Regions from separate parts of the Homo sapiens genome. Here region 2 is linked to region 1. Evidence: promoter capture Hi-C in human tissues and cell types (Jung and others, 2019). All regions are on one chromosome and are shown on one strand. The core of a region is centred on a gene start or on the middle of the fragment in contact, and the rest is flanking DNA. Distances in the headings are between cores, read along the strand shown.

What was found. The method cuts DNA at HindIII sites, captures the fragments that hold promoters and counts their contacts. A contact is called where the count stands out against the background at its distance.
Region 2: a contact is called between a fragment that was not itself captured here and the fragment with the promoter of ATP8B1 in region 1, in 1 of the 25 tissues and cell types used here (mesenchymal stem cells).

The regions. Positions count from the first base shown.
Region 1 is chr18:57,800,117-57,806,252 of GRCh38, forward strand. It overlaps ATP8B1 (ATPase phospholipid transporting 8B1), which reads right to left and starts at 3,199. Exons shown (of 28, transcript NM_001374385.1): 1 at 2,882-3,199. RefSeq lists an enhancer at 2,819-3,456. The HindIII fragment of the contact is 14,543 bases long and covers 1-6,136 here.
Region 2 is chr18:59,099,883-59,106,018 of GRCh38, forward strand. No RefSeq gene overlaps it. Among named protein-coding and RNA genes, the nearest start is that of SEC11C, 37 kb to the right of the region's middle. The HindIII fragment of the contact is 4,499 bases long and covers 978-5,476 here.

The sequences.
Region 1 (6,136 bases), core at 1,949-4,448:
CTAGAACCAAGTGTACAAATAAACTCTAAAATTAAGTGCTTAAGCAATTTAAAAGGCATCTCTTTTTAGAGAGATTTGGGACATAAATTGTTCTGGGGCCAGGCACAGTGGCTCACACCTGTAATCCCAGCACTTTGGGAGGCCAAGGCAGGAGGATTGCTTGAGGCCAGGAGTTTTAGATCAGCCTGGGCAACATAACAAGGCCCTGTCTCTATGTATTTTATTTATAAAAAATTTTAAAAAACAACTTGTTCTGGTACCTAAAAAGCAAGTTCCTCTGCATTCATGAGTGCATCGGTTTCTTTTTCAGTAACCGACACTAAAGAGCAAAGGTAACTAGGAAAAATCTCTCTGGAGTTGTTAGAATTACCTGCATTCTGTGAATGTTGCTTATAAAAAACTAAAATGGAATTTTAATTCATAAGGCAATAAAATCTTAAAAATATACCAGATACCTGCAATAATAGTATTTTTAGATATCAATCTAATAAAGAAAGTAAGAAACCAACATTCAAACACTGACTATATATAAAGAACATTCATATGTTCTCTGATTTAATTCTTTCAACAATCCAAAGAGATTGATAATATCTTTTCCCCTCAACAGAGCAGCAAACAGAGGTTCAGAAAACAAGAATTCATTTAAGGTTATACAATTAATAAGGAAAAGAACTGAAATCTGTGGGCATTTTTATATTTTCCACTACTCCTTGCTTCAAAAGGATGGAAAAGAAAGAGGAAAGAGGAATGGACGGAAGGAAAGGAAAAGAACATTCTACAGCCAGATCTGGTAGTGACTCCATTAGCACTAAGATCCCCTAGACTGAAAATCAGATTAAACATAAAATCAGTCCTGAACTTGCCTTACCACCGAAGACTTCTTTTTGCGAAGCCATTTGCTGTACCACATTATTATTTTTAAACTTCTATTGAACAAAAAACAAAACAAAACCTCTCCCAGTTCTATCACTAGGATGTAATAACATGTGCACACAGGTGTGTGTGTTCCTTAAAATCCATAAGGAAAACTTGAAAGCAGCCAGAGCTGACCTCACACAGGTGGCATCTGTGTTGGACAGTAATAACCAAAAGAGTCTTGCTCGGCCCTTAATAACCCACGCAAAGAATCACTAAAAGTTACTAAAATACAGCCACTGGAAAACGACGAATGAACAAAGTGGTTAATGTTCCTTCCCAAAATTATAGCAAGGAAAACTCCACCACCTAATGAAAATCATTAAGAGAATTCAGAGGAGTTAACTGCAGGCAGGCGTGACTTCTCCCCCAGAAAGTAATCAGCTAATAAGCATTAATCATCTTGTGCACAGTCTGCGCATTTATAATAGGGTTTAATAAAGCCTTCAACAACAGGCCCAGAATTAATGAACGGCATCTTAGGTCTAACACAAAAGTATTCCTTAGCGGACGAAAATTAGCGCTTCTACTTCACATTTGCTGTCGTGTCCCCCATATATACGGGCTCGTATTCACTATCCCTGGAGGCTTTATCACGCGTGGTTTTTTTTAGCTTTTGTTCCTGAAAGCAGTTAACCTTCATCGATAACCTACCGTGTGCCGGGTGATCTCCAAACATCCCACTAGTTTTTTCTTTTTTTAGTTTCCCATGGGTAGTGGCAAAATTTTGAAGGCAATGCAACCAGGAAGATGGGAGCGAATATTTTCTCACGCCAACAGGGAGGCCAGTTTCCGGGAGAGGAACTCGGCGGCGTCTGGAGCTACCCAGGAAGAGCTTGCAGCCCCCAAGGGCAGCGCGTGCAGGCCAAGGGGGTCGGGTAGGGTTGAGCGGGTACTCACCGGGCAGAAGCGCGGCCCAAGTCCTCCTTACTTCTGCGTGTCAATCCCCCTTCCCCAATTTGCATCCTTACTGCAATCCAGTCTCCCCCGTACAACCGTCACGGATCTGCGCTCCGAGCACCGCCCCCCCCCGCAACCAGCCACCAACCCCCGGCAGGGACCACAGGCACACGCCTCCGTCGGAAAAGTTGGGCAGACACTTCAGAACTTTTCTTTCACTTTGGGGAGAAGGAGGGAGTTGGAGAAGTGGGGGCGAGGGGTGTTAAAGCACTGGGCCATTCTCTGCAACATCTCCCCGCGCCCCCCAACAAGTTGCCCCTCCTCGTGCACACAGCGAGGTGACAGCGCAGGGCACCAAACTGCTGAGGGAAGGAGATGCCTGCAGCCATCTCAGCGGGGCTGGCGGACGCGACCCGACAGTCACCGGAAAAACAGTGGTGTCGGTCTTCCCCATCACCTCCCCTCCCCATCCCACAATAAAGCGCACGGAAGATGTCTGGGAGTACCTGGCCCTGCCACAGGAGCTGGGGAGGAGAGCGATCTCACCCCCTCCATCCCTCCCGGCAGGTGGGCCGCGGTCAGATACGTTTGGCCCGCAAGTCCTTTTCGGACACGTTGGCATCTGCTCCCAAAGAGCGCCCCAGCAGGACCCGGTCACCGGGGTCTTCCAGAGGGGCGGTAGCCACCGCACAGGAGCCAGCGGCATCCCCCAAGGAGCCGCAAGCCCTACCTGGCTTAACCCCCGGACATGTGTGTCGCTACCGATCGAAGAACCCAAACACCCCGAGATTTCCCTCCTCTAGGCAGGTGAAAACCCCACGGAACTCTCCGCAGCGCTGCCTGCCCAGCCGGCCGTGTCTCGCCGTCCCCGAGGCCTCGGGGGCTCCCAGCACCTCCACCCAAATCCCACCTGTGCGGGCTCGGGAGTCCGAGGGCGCTGACAGCTGCTGCCGCCGCATCCCGGATCTCCAAAGTGCGGCGGGAGCGGCCAGGGAACCTGCAGGACACCGCCGGGCCAAGGGGCTTGGGAAGGTCTGGGGGCCCCCGGCGCCGCACCCCTGCTTACCTGGCGTTCGCTGGGCCCCGGCTGGGGCATCCGCCTGGTGCGCGCCGCTCGGAGCGCTCGCTGCGCACCTGGCCGCTGCCGCCGCCCGCCCGGCCCCAGCCCTGGCCGCCGCGCTAGCGCTGCATGGCGCACGGGGGCTGGCCGGGGGCCCGGGGAAGCGTGTCTAGTTGGCGGCGGCACCTCCGGCTCTCGCGGCTCGCTAGTGGCTCCCCCGCCTTTCCCCGCCCCGCGTCCGTGCACCCTTCCTCTGCAGCCGCCCTTTTGCCTCCGCTCCGCCGGACCGGCCAAACTGGTTTCTCCGCTCGGGGAGGTGCCTCTGGTTTCCCTCCAGCAGCCGCGGCCGCCGAGCCTCGCTGGGGCTGGGGCTGGGGCTGGAGGCGGGCTCGGCCTTCTCCCCTCCCTTTTTCCCTCCCTAGGGCGGAGAGGGGCTGGACTGCAAGCCCCGGGGCGGCCCGAGGCGGCCCAGGTCCAGCTCCTGCCCCACGCCCTCCGTGCGTCCTGGAGTCAGGTGGGCACCCCTTTCAGTCTTCCGAGCCCAGCCTACGAGCCCTTGCCTCGCCCAGCCTGAGACCCAGTTGCTGCGGCTGCTCTTAGCTCCCCGGGGGCCGCACTCGCCACCACACCTCTCCAGCCCAGCGTCACTTTCCCGCTGCCCTTGGCTGGCTTGGCCGTCACCCCGGGTCGAGGACTGAGCCAGCCTGGAAAGCTGGCGGGGCCGCGGCGCGCCCGGGACCTGAGCTCCCTCGGTAAGGGGAGCTGTGTCCTCTTGATGCCAAGTCATGTTTGGGGACCGGTCACCGAATGCGCGTCAAAGTTCGCCGCGTGGAGGGTGAAGAAAGAGGCTGCGCCTCAAGACTTCCAGAAACGTATCCTGTGATTGCAGCCAGCAGGCTTTCTGCCGAGTCCAAACGCTATCGAGTTTTTTTGGGTTTGGAGTCAAAAGGAGTTAAGGTGCGGCCCGTGAACCACGCGGTGTAGGTGGAAATTTTGGACTCAGCGCCTCGTTGCTGGCTGGTGTCTGAGCGGGTGAATCGTGCCTCCCTGGCAGTATAGACATTACCCTCCTTCTTGAGTAGACTTTTGCCGCTCCCCGACTATGGACCGAGTCGTTGGGATAAGAATGGAGGAAAATCAAAGATCAGAGTTTGCTTAAAATGCAGTAGGGGAGCCAGGACTCCCACACGATTCCCAGTCACCTAGAGGCTCACATCTATGCCCAAGAGTCCAGACTCCCAACTGGGTCATCACAGAGGCTTCCTACAGGAGGCCGTGCTTGATGGGACTCAAAGATCCACAGCTTTAAGGATCAGAGTTGTGTAGAGAGGGTATTCAACGGGTGGCCAACTGGTAGAATCTTGTCTGATACCAACCCCGAGGCTGCTCTAGGCTTCTTTTTCATGAGTCAAACTTGATCTCTGACTAGGTGCTGGTCAGTCACTCAATCTATCCAGGCCTCAGTTTCCTCATTTGTAAAATGAGATTGGACCAGATGGTCTCTTCCAGCACTTATATTCTGAAGCTAACGACAGAACAAAGGTACCGATGCAAGAGAACATAGGGCCTGTTGGTGACACTGGTTGATCTAAGACATTTAGACTTGTTTTTGGTAGCACCTGCAAACCGTTGACAATTTAGGACCGAGCATGAGCATGATCAAGGTTGTGTTTTAGGGAAAATAATAGGGAGATAGTCTAGAGAGGATAAAACTGAAGATGGGAGAATCACTTGAGAGGCTGGGACAGCGACATACGGAGGAGTTGCCAGGGGAAGTAAAAAGGAGGAAATTCAAGGGACACCACAGAAGAGAGATAGGGCACGAAGTGGCCACAACCTGCAACTGACTGGGAGAGGGGAGCAATGGAAGGTGAGCCAGGTTCTCAAGACTGGGTTATGGCATGCAAGGAGCAGCAGACTCCAAAGGAGGGAAGCCGTTTAGGAAGACTCTGCCCCTATCTGGATAAATGCCAGCAAACCTAGGAATCAAGAGGGGATTCCAGACTAAAGGGGGCACCCCCTCCTTGCAGATCCACTACCAAGTGCTCAACCTGTCCAAGAAAATGTTACATAGAAGAGACTAAACAAGGACGCATCCAATCTACACCTGTACCTAGATCTGATCAATACCATTCTGATGTCTGCATTTATTTACTTGTTTATTTATTTATAGAGACAGGGTTGGGTTTCACTATGTTGCCCAGGCTTGTCTTGAACTCCCCAGTTCAAGCGGTCCACCTGCCTCAGCCCCCCAAGGTGCTGGGATTACAGTCATGAGCCACCACCTGTACTAAAAATACAAAAATTAGCCAAGCATGGTGGCGGGCGCCTGTGGTCCCAGCTACTCAAGAGGCTGAAGCAGGAGAATCAATTGAACCTGGGAGACTGAGGTGGCAGGCAGTGAGCCGAGACTGTGCCACTGCGCTTCAGCCTGGGCAACAGAGCGAGGCTCTGTCTCAAAATAAAATAATATTCTTTCATTCAACAAAGATTTGAGTGTGAGTGCCTACTGTGTGTCAGGCAGTTTTCTAGTTGCTTGGGTACATCTATGAGCCAATCAAATATCTTTTTTTTTTTTTTTTTTTAGACAGAGGCTCGCTCTGTTGCACAGGCTGGAGTGCAGTGGTGTGATCTCGGCTCACTGCAACCTCCACCTCCTGGGTTCCAGCAATTCTCCTGCCGCAGCCTCCCGAGTAGCTGGGGTTACAGGCACAGCCACCAGGCCAGGCTAATTTTTGTATTTTTAGTAGAGACAGGTTTCACCATGTTGGTCAGGCTGGTCGTGAACTCGTGACCTCATGATCCACCCACCTCAGCCTCCCAAAGTGCTGGGATTATAGGCGTGAGCCACTGCACTCGGCAAGTATCTTAAAAGGTGGCAAATGCTTTGAAAAAATAGAACAGGCTGGACTGGGAGAAGGCCCCTGAAGGAGCTGCCTTTTGGAGTGCTGTAAAAGTTATATTTCTTGATCTGAATGATAATTATACGAGTAGACGCATATGCAAGAATTCATTGACCTGTATGCTTAAGATTTATACATTAAAAAATAATAGACCAGGCACGATGGCTCACACCTGTAATCCCAGCACTTTGGGAGATCAAGGCAGGTGGATCATGAGGTCAGGAGTTCAAGATCAGCATGGCCAAGATGGTGAAACCCTGTCTCTACTAAAAATACAAAAAATTAGCCAGGCGTGATGGTGGGCATCTGTAATCCCAGCTACTGAGGAGGCTGAGGCAGATAATTGCTTGAACCCTGA
Region 2 (6,136 bases), core at 1,977-4,476, 1.3 Mb after region 1:
AGCTGCTGTGTCCTTGCACCCCTGGCCCTGGAACAGGCTTGGACTCCTGACCCAGGTTGGGCCAATGGTAAAACCCTGGCCGTGGTTGATGGACTAGGGGTGAGCATCTGACCCAAGCCAGGCCTATCAGAGCTTTCCCTGGCAAGGTAGAACTTGAACTAGAAACAGGGCCCCTCTCTCTTCCTGGTGGTGGAGTCGGAAAACATAAAACTTGAGAGCTCACAGCAGACAGATCTGTGCCATGTGGAAGTAGCCGGTCTGTCCTGAGAGGGAAGGAAGAGGAGAGGAGAGGAGAGGGGAGGTTAGGGGAGGTGAGGGGAGGGGAGGAGAATCAATGGCTTATCATTCCCTGGAGGCAGTTTTTTTCTGAGGCCCAGCCCCATCCCTCCCCTAGCCAATGTCCTGGGGACACACGTCCTTCAATTCCGGGTGGTATCTCAGGGGCCTGCTAAAAAAGCTCCCTGTTTCTTAAGTGTGTTGAAGTTAGGTTGTTTTTCTGTCATTTGCAACTGACCATCTTGGCGGAGTCCAGGAAGGCTTTCTATGGAGATGACAATGAAAGAACAGCCATTAATAAGAATCAGCCTAAAGCACACATTGAAGGACACAGGAGCTTGGCCTGGAAGAGAGTGGGTGGGAGTGCTTCAAAAGGAATTGTTTGCCGGCTAAATGAAAACTATCATATACCTTTATGATTTTCTAGGATAAAGATGCAGAAAATTGTTTGAATTGTGAGCCTGGAAATTCTGCTAACTGGCCCGGCTCCCCAAAACTTTCCTGGACCTCCTTGAGGTTGCTTATAAAGCTTAAGGGTCACTATGGGATATTTATTTGTTGGGTCAAAGCATCAGAGAACTTGAGCATCCTAGGCTAAAGGACAAAAGTGTGGAAATACCATTGTTCTCGGAAGAGGCCACTCCAACCTCTGCAGTCTAAACAATGAAGAGTGAGAAAGGCAACTTTAAAAAATCTCACGTAACGGGTAGGTCCACAGACATGGCAAACTAGACAGTTATAAAGTATGACTCAGTGATGTCACGAGGACCCAGATTCTTAGGTTCTTGCCGTCCTTGGTAGATTGTATAATTGTCCCCAAATATTTACAGCCCCCCTGTGTTAGGATTATGCCACCCCCTTTGTTCACTCAAGCTTGGCCATGTGATTTATTTGGGCTAGTGAAATGTGTAAGAGACAAGATCCATTTCAAACAGAAGCTTTAAGTGTCATATTTAAAGGTTTCATGTCTCTTTTCCTCTGCTAAGATGAGCAGGTCCCCTACAAGAGCTGTCTCCATAGACTGGCCTCAGAACAGAGACCCAGGCAAAGCCCATCCATGTTGGATATACAGCATGAGCGAGCAATAAACCCCTTGTGTTGTAAGCCACTGAGATTTGGCCTTCGGTATTAGCTTCAATCTCCGATTGGGCATGAGATGGCTACAACGATTCCAGAATCACCTCCTGGCATGACAACACCCAGAACAAGAAGAGAGACCTACTCTTCCCAAGGGTTTCTCTAAAAACAAGGGATGCTGCAAGGAGACCCACACAGACTTTCCCTTATCTTATTTGCTGCATGGGGCAGGTAGAAAGACATCTAGGTTCTATTGGTGCTAGTAGGGGTGGTGGCGGGGATTCACCCCAGGCAGGCGGTTGTTCTGCCCGATGCCTGCCCAGGGCTAAGGCTTGTGGCCAGCACACTCCCCCATCAGGGCTCCCTTGAGTAACCTGAAGGTCCCCTGTGCTCAGGAGGATTGCTCAACCACTGAACTTCTACTATTATCATTAACAGTAACAAAACATAATCAATAATCCACAAAACTGCACTCCTAACTCCTTTCTTTCTGAAATCACATTCCTATCTAGGTTTAGGGAAAAAAAGACAGGAAAGTGTGTGTGAAGTTAAATATTTGTGTATCCACGTATGCATTCCGGTCACTGAAGAAATAAAGGATAGTATAAAACATAGATCCAACCCTCAGAAGCAATTTCAGAGTGGTGAGGGAGAGAAAAGAATCACAAAGGGCAAAGCAAGCCTGTGTGACCATCTCCAGAGTAATGTAGACAGAGGATGTAGGAACTCTGAGCACAAGTGGCTTTTTTCTCCCATCCCCAAGAGGGCGAGGAGGGACGAAGGAGCCAGGAGGGAGTCTGCTCAGCTGCACCGTTCCTAGCATGTGGCAGGTGCACAGCAAGTGTTTCTCCAAGGGAAGTAACAGGGCATCCAGGAAACTCTTACGCTCCCTCACTCTGAGCCATGTTGCTTATTTCCATACTGATTGACCTTAAAATGGATTTGTGTGCATGTGAAATTTGTCATGCTTACAAGAGGGTGTATAATGTACTTTTATAGCTCAAAGAAAAATAAATAACCATGGACCTGCCACCCATTTTAAGAAATAAAACATTTCCAAGCCCCTTGGATCTCCCTGGGAGCCCCACTCCAATCATTCTCTGTTCACTTTCTTCAGAGGTAATCACTGTCCTGAATCTCAATTGTCTATTACTTCTTTTCTTTTCTTTTTGTTTTTCCCTTCCTTCCTTCCTTCCTTCCTTCCTTCCTTCCTTCCTTCCTTCCTTCCTTCCTTCCTTCCCTCCCTCCCTCCCTCCCTCCCTCCTTCCTTCCTTCCTTCCTTCCTCTCTCTCTCTCTCTCTCTCTCTCTTTCTTTCTTTCTTTCTTTCTTTCTTTCTTTCTTTCTTTCTTTCTTTCTTTCTTTCGTTCGTTCTCTCTTTCTTTCTTTCTTTCTTGACAGTCTCGCTCTGTCACCCAGGCTGAAGCATGATCTTGGCTCACTGCAACCTCCGCCTCCTGGGTTGAGGTGATTCTTCTGCTTCAGCCTACTGAGTAACTGGTATTATGGGTGCCTGCCACCACACTTGGCTATTTTTTGTACTTTTAGTAGAGATGGGATTTCACCACATTGGCCAGGCTGGTCTCGAACTCCTGACCTCAAGTGATCCACCTGCCTCAGTCTCCCAAAGTGCTGGGATTGCAGGCGTGAGCAACTGCGCCCAGCCACTATTACTCATTTTCATTCACTTCAGAGTTTTACCACAAATGCATGTATCCCTAAGCTTTTGCTTATTTAGATTTGCCTGTGTTTTAAACTTACATAAACTTAATCATACTGCTACTTGCTTTTGATCTAATATAATGCTTTTGAGGTATATCCATGTTGATACATGTGGGAATAAAATATTTTTTATATTTAATATTTCATTGCTTGAATGCATCATAATTTATCCATTTTACTGTGGATGAGCATTTTGGTTGTTTGCAGTTTTGTTAGTGGAATAATGCTACTATAAACATTCTGTGTGTGTCTCCAGATGTGGGTGTGTGAGAGTTTCTCTAGAATACATACCTAGGGGCAGATTGATGCTTCACAGGTTTGCGCATCTTCAATTGTACTTAATAATGCTCATCTTCTTCCACAGTGGTCCTACCAATTTACTCTCTCACCAGCAGAGACTGAGAGCTTTTGTTGCCCTGAATCTTTAACCCTTCTTGTCAGACTTTTAAATTTGGTTCAATCTGGGCAGTATGAAATCTCATTATGGGTTTTGGTTGTATTCCCTCCCTAGTTACTAATGAGGTTAAAAAATGTTTTATATGTTTATTATGCATCCATGTTATTTATGTGAAATGCCTTTTGTTAAAGCCTTTTTTTTAGAGAATTATAGGATTTCTTTTATATTCTGGAAACTAGTTCTTGATTTACGTATTCTAAGTATCTTCTCTCAATTCATGGTATGTTTTATCTCTCTCTTTTAATGGTATCTTTTGATTTGAAAAAGTTCTTAATATTAATGTAATTAAAATTTTCAATATTCTGTTTATTTATTTATTTTCTTAGAAAGGGTCTCACTCTGTCACCCAGGCTGAGTGCAGTGGTACAATCACAGCTCACTGCAGTCTTGATCACCTATGCTCAGAAAATCCTTCTGCCTCAGCCTCCCCAGTAGCTGGCACTACAGGCACACACCACCACGCCCAGCTAATTTTTTAGTTTTTGAAGAGACAGGTGTCTTGCTCTTTTCCCCAGGCTAGTCTCGAACTCCTGGACTCAAGCGATCTTCCCTTCTTTTTTTTTTTTTTTTTTTGAGATGGAGTCTCACTCTGTCACCCAGGCTGGAGTGCAGTGGTGTGATCTCAGCTCACTGCAACCTCTGCCTCCTGGGTTCAAGTGATTCTCATGCCTCAGCCTCCCCAGTAGCTAGGATTACAGGCGTGCACCACCATGCCCAGCTAATTTTTGTATTTTTAGTAGAGACAAGGTTTAGCCATGTTGGCCAGGCTGGTCTCGAACTCCTGACCTCAAGTGATCCGGCCCCCTCAGCCTCCCAAAGTGCTGGGATTACAGTTGTGAGCCACCATGCCTGGCCTCCTTTTTCTTTTTTTTTTTTTTTTACTTTTCATATGAAAAATAAACTAGCACAGCTTTAATCATTTGTTAAACAATCCATTGATTTCCGCTGAGAGTGGGTACCAGCTATGTTTGGTTCCCATATTTGTGTGAGTCTTTTTTGCACCTTTATTCTATTCTGTTTGTCTACTTGTTTTCCCCGCTGGTACTACCACACTATCTTAATTTCTACTGCATTGTAGATTATTTCACCTGATTCTTCTTCAGAAGTGTCTTAGCTATTCTTGATCTTTTATTCTTCCATATAAATTTTAGGAGTCAAACCTGTTGGGATTTTGACTTGAATTCCATACAGCAAACAGACAAATTTAAAGAGAACAGATATCTTTTCAAGAGGGAGTGTTCTATCCATAACTTTGGCATATATTTCCATTTATTTAGGTCTTCTTTAAAGTGTTTAAAGAAAAGTTTCTAATTTATGGCATAAAGATAATAAATATTATGTATTAGATTTATTTTTAGATATAACATACGTTATTGTAACAATTTTTAAATTATTTTCTATTTTTATTGTTTTCTATTTTAAATTATTTTCTATTTTAAATTAAAACATAGCTTTAATTTTCCATGTACCTGTCTCAGAATTGTGTTTTTATTAGTTATCTATAACCCCATAATATTATAGCCAAAGAATGTGATCTGTATGATATTACTATGTTGAAAACTTTTGACACTTATTTTATAACCGTGGATACAACCAGTTTTTCTAAAAGTTTCACATATGCTTGAAAATGTGCGTGTTCTTCACTCATTAGGTATACTATTCCACATATCTCCATTAGATTAAGATTGTAGATTTTATTTTTCTAGTCATTTTGATAGTGCTGGCTGCTTGATTGATGAGTTTTTTGTTTTGTTTTGTTTTTTACGACAGGCTCTTGCTCTGTTGCCCAGGCTTGAACGCAGTAGCGTAGTCATGGCTCGCTGCAGCCTCGACCTCCCAGGCTCAAGTGATTCTCTCACGCTGACCTTCCAAAGTACTGGGATTACAGGTGGGAGCCACCACGCCAGGCCAATTGATCCGTTTTTTGAAAGAGTGTTAAAATCTCCCAGTATGATGATGAATTTTTTTATTTTTCCTTTTAGTTCTGTCATTTTGCATTGTTTGAATGTGAAACTTTTTTATTAGGTGCCCACGTATTTAGATCTATTATTTCTTCATGGTGAATTGAGTCTTTCCGTTATATGTAGTGACTTTCTTTATCTCTAATGATGCCTTTTAGCTTAAAGTCTATTTTGTCTGAAGTTAATACGGTGACTCAAATCTTCTTTTGATTAGTGCTTGTCTGAAATATATTTTCTTTTACTTTCAACATTTTCATGACCTTATGTTTTGGTGTGACCATTAAAAATAGCTTATAGCTGAAATTTTAAAAGTCAAACCTGACAATATTTATCTTTCAGTTGGAGGCTTCATTTTGTTTACATTTATTTTAGTTACACATTTAGATTCATGTCTATCATCTTATTTTGTAGGTTCTATTGGCTCTGTTTTCTTGTTTCTTCTCTTTTCTTACCTTCTTACGGACTTTTTTTCCAGCAGTATTTCATTTCTCATTCTCTCTATTATTTGAAAGTTAAATCTTTCATAAATATTTTTTAGTGGAAACTCTAGAAATTTTGGGGACTAATTTATCATAAGTCTAAAACTGATCAATTTTCACTCTCTTGAATAATATGAGGATCCTAGAACATTTTAACATCAATCAC